Regions from separate parts of the Homo sapiens genome. Here region 1 is linked to region 2. Evidence: promoter capture Hi-C in human tissues and cell types (Jung and others, 2019). All regions are on one chromosome and are shown on one strand. The core of a region is centred on a gene start or on the middle of the fragment in contact, and the rest is flanking DNA. Distances in the headings are between cores, read along the strand shown.

Region 1 (4,448 bases), core at 1,353-3,852, 170 kb before region 2:
GCGATTCTCATGCCTCAGCCTCCCAAATAGCTGGGATTACAGTCGTGCACCACCACGCCCAGCTAATTTTTGTATTTTTTGTAAAGTGGGGTTTCGCCATATTGAAGAGCTTGGTCTCAAATTCCTGGCCTCAAGTAATCTGTTCACCTCGGCCTCCCAAGTGCTGGGATTACAGGTGTGAGCCACTGTGCCTGGCCTTGTCAATTTCATCTTATTGAAGAAGTTGCTCTTATGGCCTTCTGGCCTGCTCCAGCCTGGGCATAGCCGCCATCTTGGGATCACCTTTCACCTTCATCCCTTCATCTCTGGTTTGGATCCTGTTGTAGCACAAATTCTAACTCTTTCTGGGTTTTGCTTCCTTGTTCTTTTGAGCTTCCTGACAGAGGCACATAGCGGGTATATTTTTGGAGACATTGCAAATCTGAAAAGTCTTTTTTTCTGTCCTTGTACTTGATGGACAGTCAGGCTGGGTATAGAATTCTGCATTAGAGCTCATTTTCCTTCAGAATTTGGAAGAGTCACTCTATTGTTTTCTAATATCCAGTGCTACTGTAGAGAAATCCAAGATCATTCTGATTCCTATGCCTTTGTATGTAACCTGTTGTTTCTTTTCCTTGTCCTTGGTGGACTGACATTTATCAGTGACATGCCTTGATCTGTTTCCCTTTTTTTTTTTTTTTTGAGACGGAGTTTCACTCTTGTTGCCCAGGCTGGAGTGCAATGGCACGATCTCAGCTCACTGCAACCTCCACCTCCCAGGTACAAGCAATTCTCCTGTCTCAGCCTCCCAAGCAGCTCCGATTACAGGCATGTGGCACCATGCCCAGCTAATTTCTTTGTATTTAGTAGAGATGGGGTTTCACCATGTTAGTCAGGCTGGTTGCAAACTTCTGACCTCAGGTGATCCACCCGCCCCAGCCTCCCAAAGTGCTGGGATTATAGGTGTGTGCCACCGCGCCCGGCCTGCTTTCCTTTCTTTTCTTTTATCTTTTCTTTATTTTTTATTTTTTTGAGACAGAGTCTTGCTCTGTCACCAGGCTGAAGTGCAGTGGCGTGATCTTGGCTTACTGCAACCTCTGCCTCCCGGGTTCAAGCCATTCTCCTGCCTCAGCCTACCGAGTAGCTGGACTACAGGTGCCCACCACCAAGCCCAGCTAATTTTTGTATTTTTAGTAGAGACGGGGTTTCACCGTGTTGGCCAGGATGGTCTCGATCTCCTGACCTTGTGATCCGCCTGCCTCAGCCTCCCAAAGTGCTGGGATTACAGGCGTGAGCCACCGCACCCGGCCTTCTTTTTCTTTCTTTTTTTTTTTTTTTAGAGGCAGGTTCTCATTATGTTTTCCAGGCTGGTCTTGAACTCCTGGGCTCAAGCGATCCTCCTGCCTTGGCTTCCCAAAATGCTGGGATTACAGGCATGAGCCATGCGCATGGCCATTGATCTGTTTCCGTTGCTGGGTCTTTCAATCGTATTCTCATGTCATTTGTTCTGAGAAAATTTCTTGAATTTTCTTAAATTCTTTTATGTACAATATCTCCCTCTCCTTCATTTCTCTGTTTGTTTATTTATTTATGTTTAGAGACAGGGTCTCACTCTGTTCCCCAGGCTAGAGTGCAGTGAGGCAATCATAGCTCACTGCAGCCTTGACATCCTGGGCTCAAGCAATCCTCTCGCCTCAGCCTCCCGAGTAGCTTGGACTACAGGTGTGTGCCACTTTCGTGTAGAGACGGGGGTCTCACTATGTTGCCCAGGCTGCTCTTGAACTCCTAGGATCAAGCGATCCTACCACCTTGGCCTCCAAAAGTGTTAGGATTACAGGTGTGAGGCACCATGCCTGGCCAGAAACTGGACTTTCTTTTTTTTTTTTTTTATTTCATTTTGCTTTTTTTTGAGACAGAGTCTTGCTCTGTCACCCAGGCTGGAGTGCAGTGGCACGATCTCTGCTCACTGCAACCTCCACCTCCCGGGTTCAAGTGATTCTCCTGCCTCAGCCTCCCGAGTAGCTGGTTCTACAGGCGCCCGCAACCATGCCCAGCTAATTTTTGTATTTTCAGTAGAGGTGGGGTTTCACCATGTTGGCCAGGCTGGTCTTGAACTCCTGACCTCAAATGATCCACCCACCTCAGCCTCCCAAAGTGCTGGGATTACAGGCGTGACACCACCTGCAATACAGGTGCAATGGCTCACACCTGTAATCCCAGCACTTTGGGAGGACGAGAAGGGCGGATTGCCTGAGGTCAGGAGTTCAAGACCAGCCTGACCAACATGGTGAAACCCCATCTCTACTAAAAATACAAAAATTAGCCGGGCATGATGGTGGGCGCCTGTAATCCCAGCTACTCGGGAGGCTGAGGCAGAATCGCTTGAACCCGGGAGGTGGAGGTTGCAGTGAGCTGAGACCAGCACATTGCACTCCAGCCTGGGCAACAATAGCATAACTCTATCTCAAAAATAAAAATAGAAAATAAAGAATAAATAAATAAAATTTAAATGCAAATAGCCATATGTGGCGAGCTAGTGGTTGCCATAGAGGACAGCACTAGAAAATTCCATCTTTACAGTGAGGCACAAGGGAGAGGCAGCTCCCAGGGCTCTGGCCGGCTCGCAGGCCAAACGTGGGCTCACCCTACCGCTTCCGGCAAGTAACCCCACAGGGGGAGAAAGGAAATGCACGTCCTAAAAAGAAATAGAGAAACACAGCTTCTCCTCCCAGCCAGTTCTTGGTGCCCTTTCCATGAGAGATGTGCAATTTCTCACTCACTCAAGAGGGGCAAAAAAGGAAATATCAAGGCCCCTTTCCGTAATGTAAGCATTATTTTTTTTTCTTTTGGATCAATTAAAATATGGATGCATTCACACTCACACATTCCAAACTAACAGTACACACTGTTCTCATCTTGCCTTTTTCCACGGAGAAAGCCCTTTTGGCATCTTTTCTGTGTTAATGGAATCCTACTTCTCAGCTCCAGTGTCTGGGCCATGGAAGGCCTCCCTTGGACCAGTCTGAGTTTACTCATTTGGCCGCTTCTTTTCTTTTTTTTTTTTTTTGAGATGGAGTCTCGCTCTGTTGCCCAGGCTGGAGTGCAGTGGCGCGATCTCGGCTCACTGCAGGCTCTGCCTCCCGGGTTCATACCATTCTCCTGCCTCAGCTTCCCGAGTAGCTGGGACTACAGGCGCCCGCCACCTCATCCAGCTAATTTTTTGTATTTTTTTAGTAGAGACGGGGTTTCACCGTGTTAGCCAGGATGGTTTAGATCTCCTGACCTCGTGATCCGCCTGCCTCCGCCTCCCAAAGTGCTGGCATTACAGGCACAAGCCACCGCGCCTGGCGGCCGCTTCTTCTATTTTCTTTTGAGATGCAGTCTCGCTCTGTCACCCAGGCTGGAGTGCAGTGGTGTGATCTCAGCTCACTGCAACCTCCACCTCCTGGGATCAAGTGATTCTCCTGCCTCAGCCTCCCGAGTAGCTGGAACTACAGGCACACGCAACCACACCCAGCTAGTTCTTTTTATTTTTAGTAGAGATGGGGTTTCACCATATTGGCCAGGCTGGTCTTGAACTTCTGACCTGAGATGATCCGCCCACCTCAGCCTCCCAAAGTGTTCTTGGGATTACAGGCGTGAGCCACCATGCCTGGCCCACTTCTTTTCTTTTCTTTCGAACTTCTTTTTTAAAAATTTTTAATTGTATTTTTTTTTTTACAGATGGTCTCACTATGTTGCCCAGGCTGGTCTCAAACTCCTGGCCTCAAGCAATCCTCCCACCTTGGCCTCCCAAAGCGATGGGATGACAAGCTTGAGTGACCACTCCCTACCTGAACTTTTGTTAAATTTATTCCTAAATATTTTATTTTATTTTATTTTTTATTTTTTTGCCAGTGTCAAACTCCTGACCCCAAGGAATCTGCTGGCCTCAGCCTCCCAAAGTGCTGGGATTATAGGCATGAGCCACCGCACCCAGCCTGGAATTGTTTTAATTTCATTTTAATTGTTCATTGCTAGTATATAGGAATATAATTTATTTCACATATTTTGTAATTTATTTCGTATATTGATCTTGTATCATGAACCTTGTTGAACTTCTATTAGCCATAATAATTTTTATTGTGGATCCTTTGGGATTTTTCTATATACAATTCTATTAATTCGCTAGGGCAGCCATAACAAAATACCATAGACTGAGTGGCTTACACAACAGAAATGTATCGCCCCACAGTTGTAGAGGCTAGAAGGTCAAAATCAAGGTGTCGGCAGTGATGGCTCCTTTTGAGGGCTGTGGGAGGACCTCTTCCAGACCTTCCTCCTTGGCTTGTAAAAAGCTGCCGTCTTCCTCTGTCTCTTCACCTTGTCTACCCTTTAAGTGCCCATTCAGCCACTTGTTTTTTTTTTTTTTTTTTTGAGACGGAGTCTTGCTCTTGCTCCATTGCCCGGGCACCATCTCAGCTCACTGC
Region 2 (4,743 bases), core at 1,227-3,726:
CACCTGTACTCCCAGCCACTTGGGAGACTGAGGCGGGAGGATCCCTTGACCCTGGGATTTTTTTTTTTTTTTTTTTTTTTGTGAGACGGAGTTTCGCTCTTTTTGCCCAGGCTGGAGTGTAGTGGCATGATCTCGGCTCACTGCAACCTCTGCCTCCTGGCTTCAAGCAATTCTCCTGCCTCAGCCTCCTGAGTAGTTGGGATTACAGGCACCTGCCGCCATGCCCGGCTAATTTTTTGTATTTTTAGTAGAGATGGGGTTTCACCACATTGGCCAGGCTGGTCTCGAACCCCTGACCTCAGGTGATCCACCCGCCTCGGCCTCCCAAAGTGCTGGGATTACAGGTGTGAGCCACCCGTGCCCGGCTGAGCCTGGGAAATTGAGGCTGCAGTGAGCCGTGATAATACCACTGCATTCCAGCCTGGGCAGCAAAGCAAGACCCTGTCCCCCTCGCCCCCCTCCCAAAAAAAAAAAAGCCAGATGCGGTGGCTCACTCCTGTAATCCCAGCACTTTGGGAGGCTGAGGCGGGCAGATCATGAGGTCAGGAGTTTGAGATCAGCCTGACCAACATGGTGAAACCCCATCTCTACTAAAAATACAGAAATTAGCTGGGTATGGTGGCACATGCCTGTAATTCCAGCTACTCAGGAGGCTGAGGCAGGAGAATTGCTTGAACCCGGGAGGTGGAGGTTGCAGTGAGCTGAAATCACACCACTGCACTCCAACCTGGGCGACAGAGCGAGACTCTGACTCAAAAAAAAAAAAAAAAAAAAAAAACTTATCTGGAATCAGACTGGAGTTTAAACCCAGGCTCTGCCTGGTCCCCACTTAGGAACACCTCAATGCCTCAGTTTTCCCCTTTGGAAAGAGACGGAATTCACTTCCGGACACTAACAGGGATTGTTTTAAGACCCAGCTGCTTCCTAGAATGACTGCCATTTAGTCAGTCCTGGCTGTGCACCAAGCTCTCCACGTTGCTGCTCCCTGCAGTGCTCATCTGCAATCTGGAGCAAAAACCTAGGAAGGCCGTGTGCAGTGGCTCATGCCTGTAATCCCAGCACTTTGGGAGGCCGAGGCAGGAGGATCACTTGAGGCTAGGAGTTTGAGACCAGCCTGGGCAACATAGCAAGACCCCATCTCTATAAAAAATTTTACAAAATTAGCCGGGCATGGTGGTGCACGCCTATAGTCCCAGCTACTCTGGAGGCTCAGGGAGGAGAATCACTTGAGCCTGGGAAGTTGAGGCTGCAGTGAGCCAAGATCGCGCCACTGCACTCCAGTCTAGGCAACAGAGCAAGATCCTATTTTTTTTTTTTTTTGAGATGGAGTCTTGCTCTATTGCCTAGGCTCAAGTGCAGTGGCACAATATTGGCTCACTGCAACCTCCACCTCCCAGGTTCAAGCCTCCCAAGTAGCTGGGATTACAGGTGCACACCACCATGCCCAGCAAATTTTTGTATTTTTAGTAGAGATGGGGTTTTACCACGTTGGCCATGCTGGTCTTGAACTCCTGAGCTCAGGTGATCCACCCGCCTCGGCCTCCCAAAGTGCTGGGATTACAGGCGTGAGCCACTGCGCCCGGCCAATTTTTTAAAATAAAAAATAAAATTAAGAAATAAATACAACATAGGAATATTCAAATGACTGAATTTGAATCAAGCCCCCTGCACGTAGCTGGCCCTGAGAGCCTGTGAGCTGTGGGGGCCGGTGCCCTAACACTTCCTGTCATCACAGTAGTTGTTATTGAAAGCACCAAGTGCCAGGCGTGGTGTGGTGGCTCACGTCTGTAATCCCAGCACTTTGGGAGGTCGAGGCGGGCAGATCACTTGAGCTCAAGAGTTCGCAACCAGCCTGGCCTACATGGTGAAACCCTGTCTCTACTAAAAATACAAAAATTAGCCAGATGTGGTTGCATGCGCCTGCAGTCCCAGCCACTCGGGAGGCTGAGTTACGAGAATCGCTTGAAGCTGGGAAGCAGAAGCTGCAGTGAGCTGAGATCACGCCACTGCACTCCAGCCTGGGTGACAGAGTGAGAGACTCCGTCTCAAAAAAATAAAAGCAAGCAAGCACTGAGCATGAATCCTGGCACACAGCAAGTGCTCAGTTAATACACCCTCTTCTTTCCCAGCCTCTTTGGAATTCAATGAACCTGGCTCTCATCCTGGCTCGGGGACCCTGGATACATCACTTTCCCCAGCCTTAGTTTACCCATCTGGAATATGGGGTCACTATGGGAGGTGTGAGGCTGAAGTCAAGCCCTTGGCGGGTGTACAGCACAGAGAATGCGGACAAGCTTGTGGCCAGCGTCCTCTGGGTTCAGGGCGTCTTCACCTTGGCAGGGATGGCAGAGCCCTCTTGCGCCCCGGCAGGTCGGCGGGGCAGGCCACCCCTTGGATTGTGACACCCACTCCTCTCACCTATGACCTCATCCCCAGAGCGGCCAGTGGGAACCCTGAGGGATCTGTGAGATCACTCATTCCATTCACAGACTCTTGTTGGGCAGCAGCCACCCGCTCACCTCCATCCCCAGGACTTAGAGGGACGCAGGGCGTTGGGAACAGAGGACACTCCAGGCGCTGACCCTGGGAGGCCAGGACCAGGGCCAAAGTCCCGTGGGCAAGAGGAGTCCTCAGAGGTCCTTCATTCAGCGGTTCCGGGAGGTCTGGGAAGCCCACGGCCTGGCTGGGGCAGGGTCAACGCCGCCAGGCCGCCATGGTCCTGTGCTGGCTGCTGCTTCTGGTGATGGCTCTGCCCCCAGGCACGACGGGCGTCAAGGACTGCGTCTTCTGTGAGCTCACCGACTCCATGCAGTGTCCTGGTACCTACATGCACTGTGGCGATGACGAGGACTGCTTCACAGGCCACGGGGTCGCCCCGGGCACTGGTCCGGTCATCAACAAAGGCTGCCTGCGAGCCACCAGCTGCGGCCTTGAGGAACCCGTCAGCTACAGGGGCGTCACCTACAGCCTCACCACCAACTGCTGCACCGGCCGCCTGTGTAACAGAGCCCCGAGCAGCCAGACAGTGGGGGCCACCACCAGCCTGGCACTGGGGCTGGGTATGCTGCTTCCTCCACGTTTGCTGTGACCAACAGGGAGGACAGGGCCTGGGACTGTTCTCCCAGATCCGCCACTCCCCATGTCCCCATGTCCTTCCCCCACTAAATGGCCAGAGAGGCCCTGGACAACCTCTTGCGGCCCTGGCTTCATCCCTTCTAAGGCTGTCCACCAGGAGCCCGGTGCTAGGGGAAGCATCCCCAGGCCTGACTGAGCGGCAGGGGAGCACGGCCCGTGGGTTTGATTGTATTACTCTGTTCCACTGGTTCTAAGACGCAGAGCTTCTCACATCTCAATCAGGATGCTTCTCTCCATTGGTAGCACTTTAGAGTCCATGAAATATGGTAAAAAATATATATATATCATAATAAATGACAGCTGATGTTCATGGAGCATTCTTTGTTTTCTTTTCTTTTTCTTTTCCTTTTTTTTTTTTTCTTTTTGTAGAGATAAGGTCCAGCTATGTTGCCCAGGGTGGTCTCGGATTCTTGGGCTCAAGTGATCCTCCCACCTCAGCCTCCCAAAGTGCTGGGATTACAGGTATGAGCCACGGCACCTGGCCAAGCCTGTCTTACGTTACGTGCCACTGAATCCTCACACCAAGCTGGGAAGGTAAACACTCTTTCAAACATTTCAAACATCCTGGTCTCAACTCCAATCATTCTCAAAGTGTGGTCCCTGGACCAGAAACAGCAGCAGCAGCAAGTGGGAACTTCCTGAAAATGCAGATTCTCAGGTCCTGTTCCAGGCACGATGAATGGCAGTGGGGTCCAAAAGCTGTGTATTGTTCTCTCTTTTTCTTTTTGAAACAGGGTTTTGCTCTGCTGCCCAGGCTGGAGTGCAGTGGTGCAATCTTGGCTCATTGCAGCCTCTACCTCCTGGGCTCAAGCAATCCTCCCACCTCAGCCTCCTGAGTAGCTGGGACTAGAAGCATGCTCCATCATGTCTAATTTTTATTTTTTTAAATTTTTGTAGAGATGGGGTCCTGCTATGTTGCCCAGGCTGGTCTTGAAGTCCTGGGCTCAAGCGATCCTCCTGCCTCAGCCTCCCAAAGTGCTGGGACTACAGACATGAACCACCACGCCTGGCCTTTTTCCGTTTTCTTTTTCTTTTCCTTTTTTTTTTTTTTTTTTATTTTTTGAGACAGAGTCTCGCTCGGTCACCCAGGCTTTAGTGCAGTGGCGCGATCTTGGCTCACTGCAACCTCCACCTCCCAGGTTCTAGCGATTCTCCTGCCTCAGCCTCCCGAGTAGCTGGGACTAGAGATGCATTCCACCAGGCCCGGCTGATTTTTTGTATTTTTAGTAGAGACAGGGTTTCCCCATGTTAATCAGGCTGGTCTGAAACTCCTGACCTCGGGTGATCCACCTGCCTCGGCCTCCCAAAGTGCTGGGATTACAGGTGTGAGCCACCACGCCCAGCCCAAAAGCTGTGTTTTAACAAGCGCTCCCAGGGATTCTGGTGCATGCACAGGGTTGAAAGCCACTGTTCCTGAGCAGTGTTCTCAGCTGGGCACCTGTGCTCCCCAGTGGGCATCTGCGCTGTCTGGAGAGGTTTTCGGTTCTCTAATTGGCAGGGAAAGTCGGGGGTATGGGGCGTGTGATGCTACTGACCTCTGCTGGGTGGAGGCTGAAGATGCCGAGGAGCCTCCCACAATGCACCCAACAGCTCCTAAAACAAAGACTT

What was found. The method cuts DNA at HindIII sites, captures the fragments that hold promoters and counts their contacts. A contact is called where the count stands out against the background at its distance.
Region 1: a contact is called between a fragment that was not itself captured here and the fragment with the promoter of SPACA4 in region 2, in 1 of the 25 tissues and cell types used here (bladder).

Annotation. Positions count from the first base shown.
Region 1 is chr19:48,430,921-48,435,368 of GRCh38, forward strand. All of the region lies in intron 11 of GRIN2D (glutamate ionotropic receptor NMDA type subunit 2D), which reads left to right. Among named protein-coding and RNA genes, the nearest start is that of GRWD1, 13 kb to the right of the region's middle. The HindIII fragment of the contact is 9,114 bases long and covers 1-4,448 here.
Region 2 is chr19:48,604,266-48,609,008 of GRCh38, forward strand. SPACA4 (sperm acrosome associated 4) reads left to right here and starts at 2,477. Exons shown (of 1, transcript NM_133498.3): 1 at 2,477-3,449. The coding sequence starts at 2,714. The coding sequence ends at 3,088. All of the region lies in intron 5 of FAM83E (family with sequence similarity 83 member E), which reads right to left. The HindIII fragment of the contact is 21,490 bases long and covers 1-4,743 here.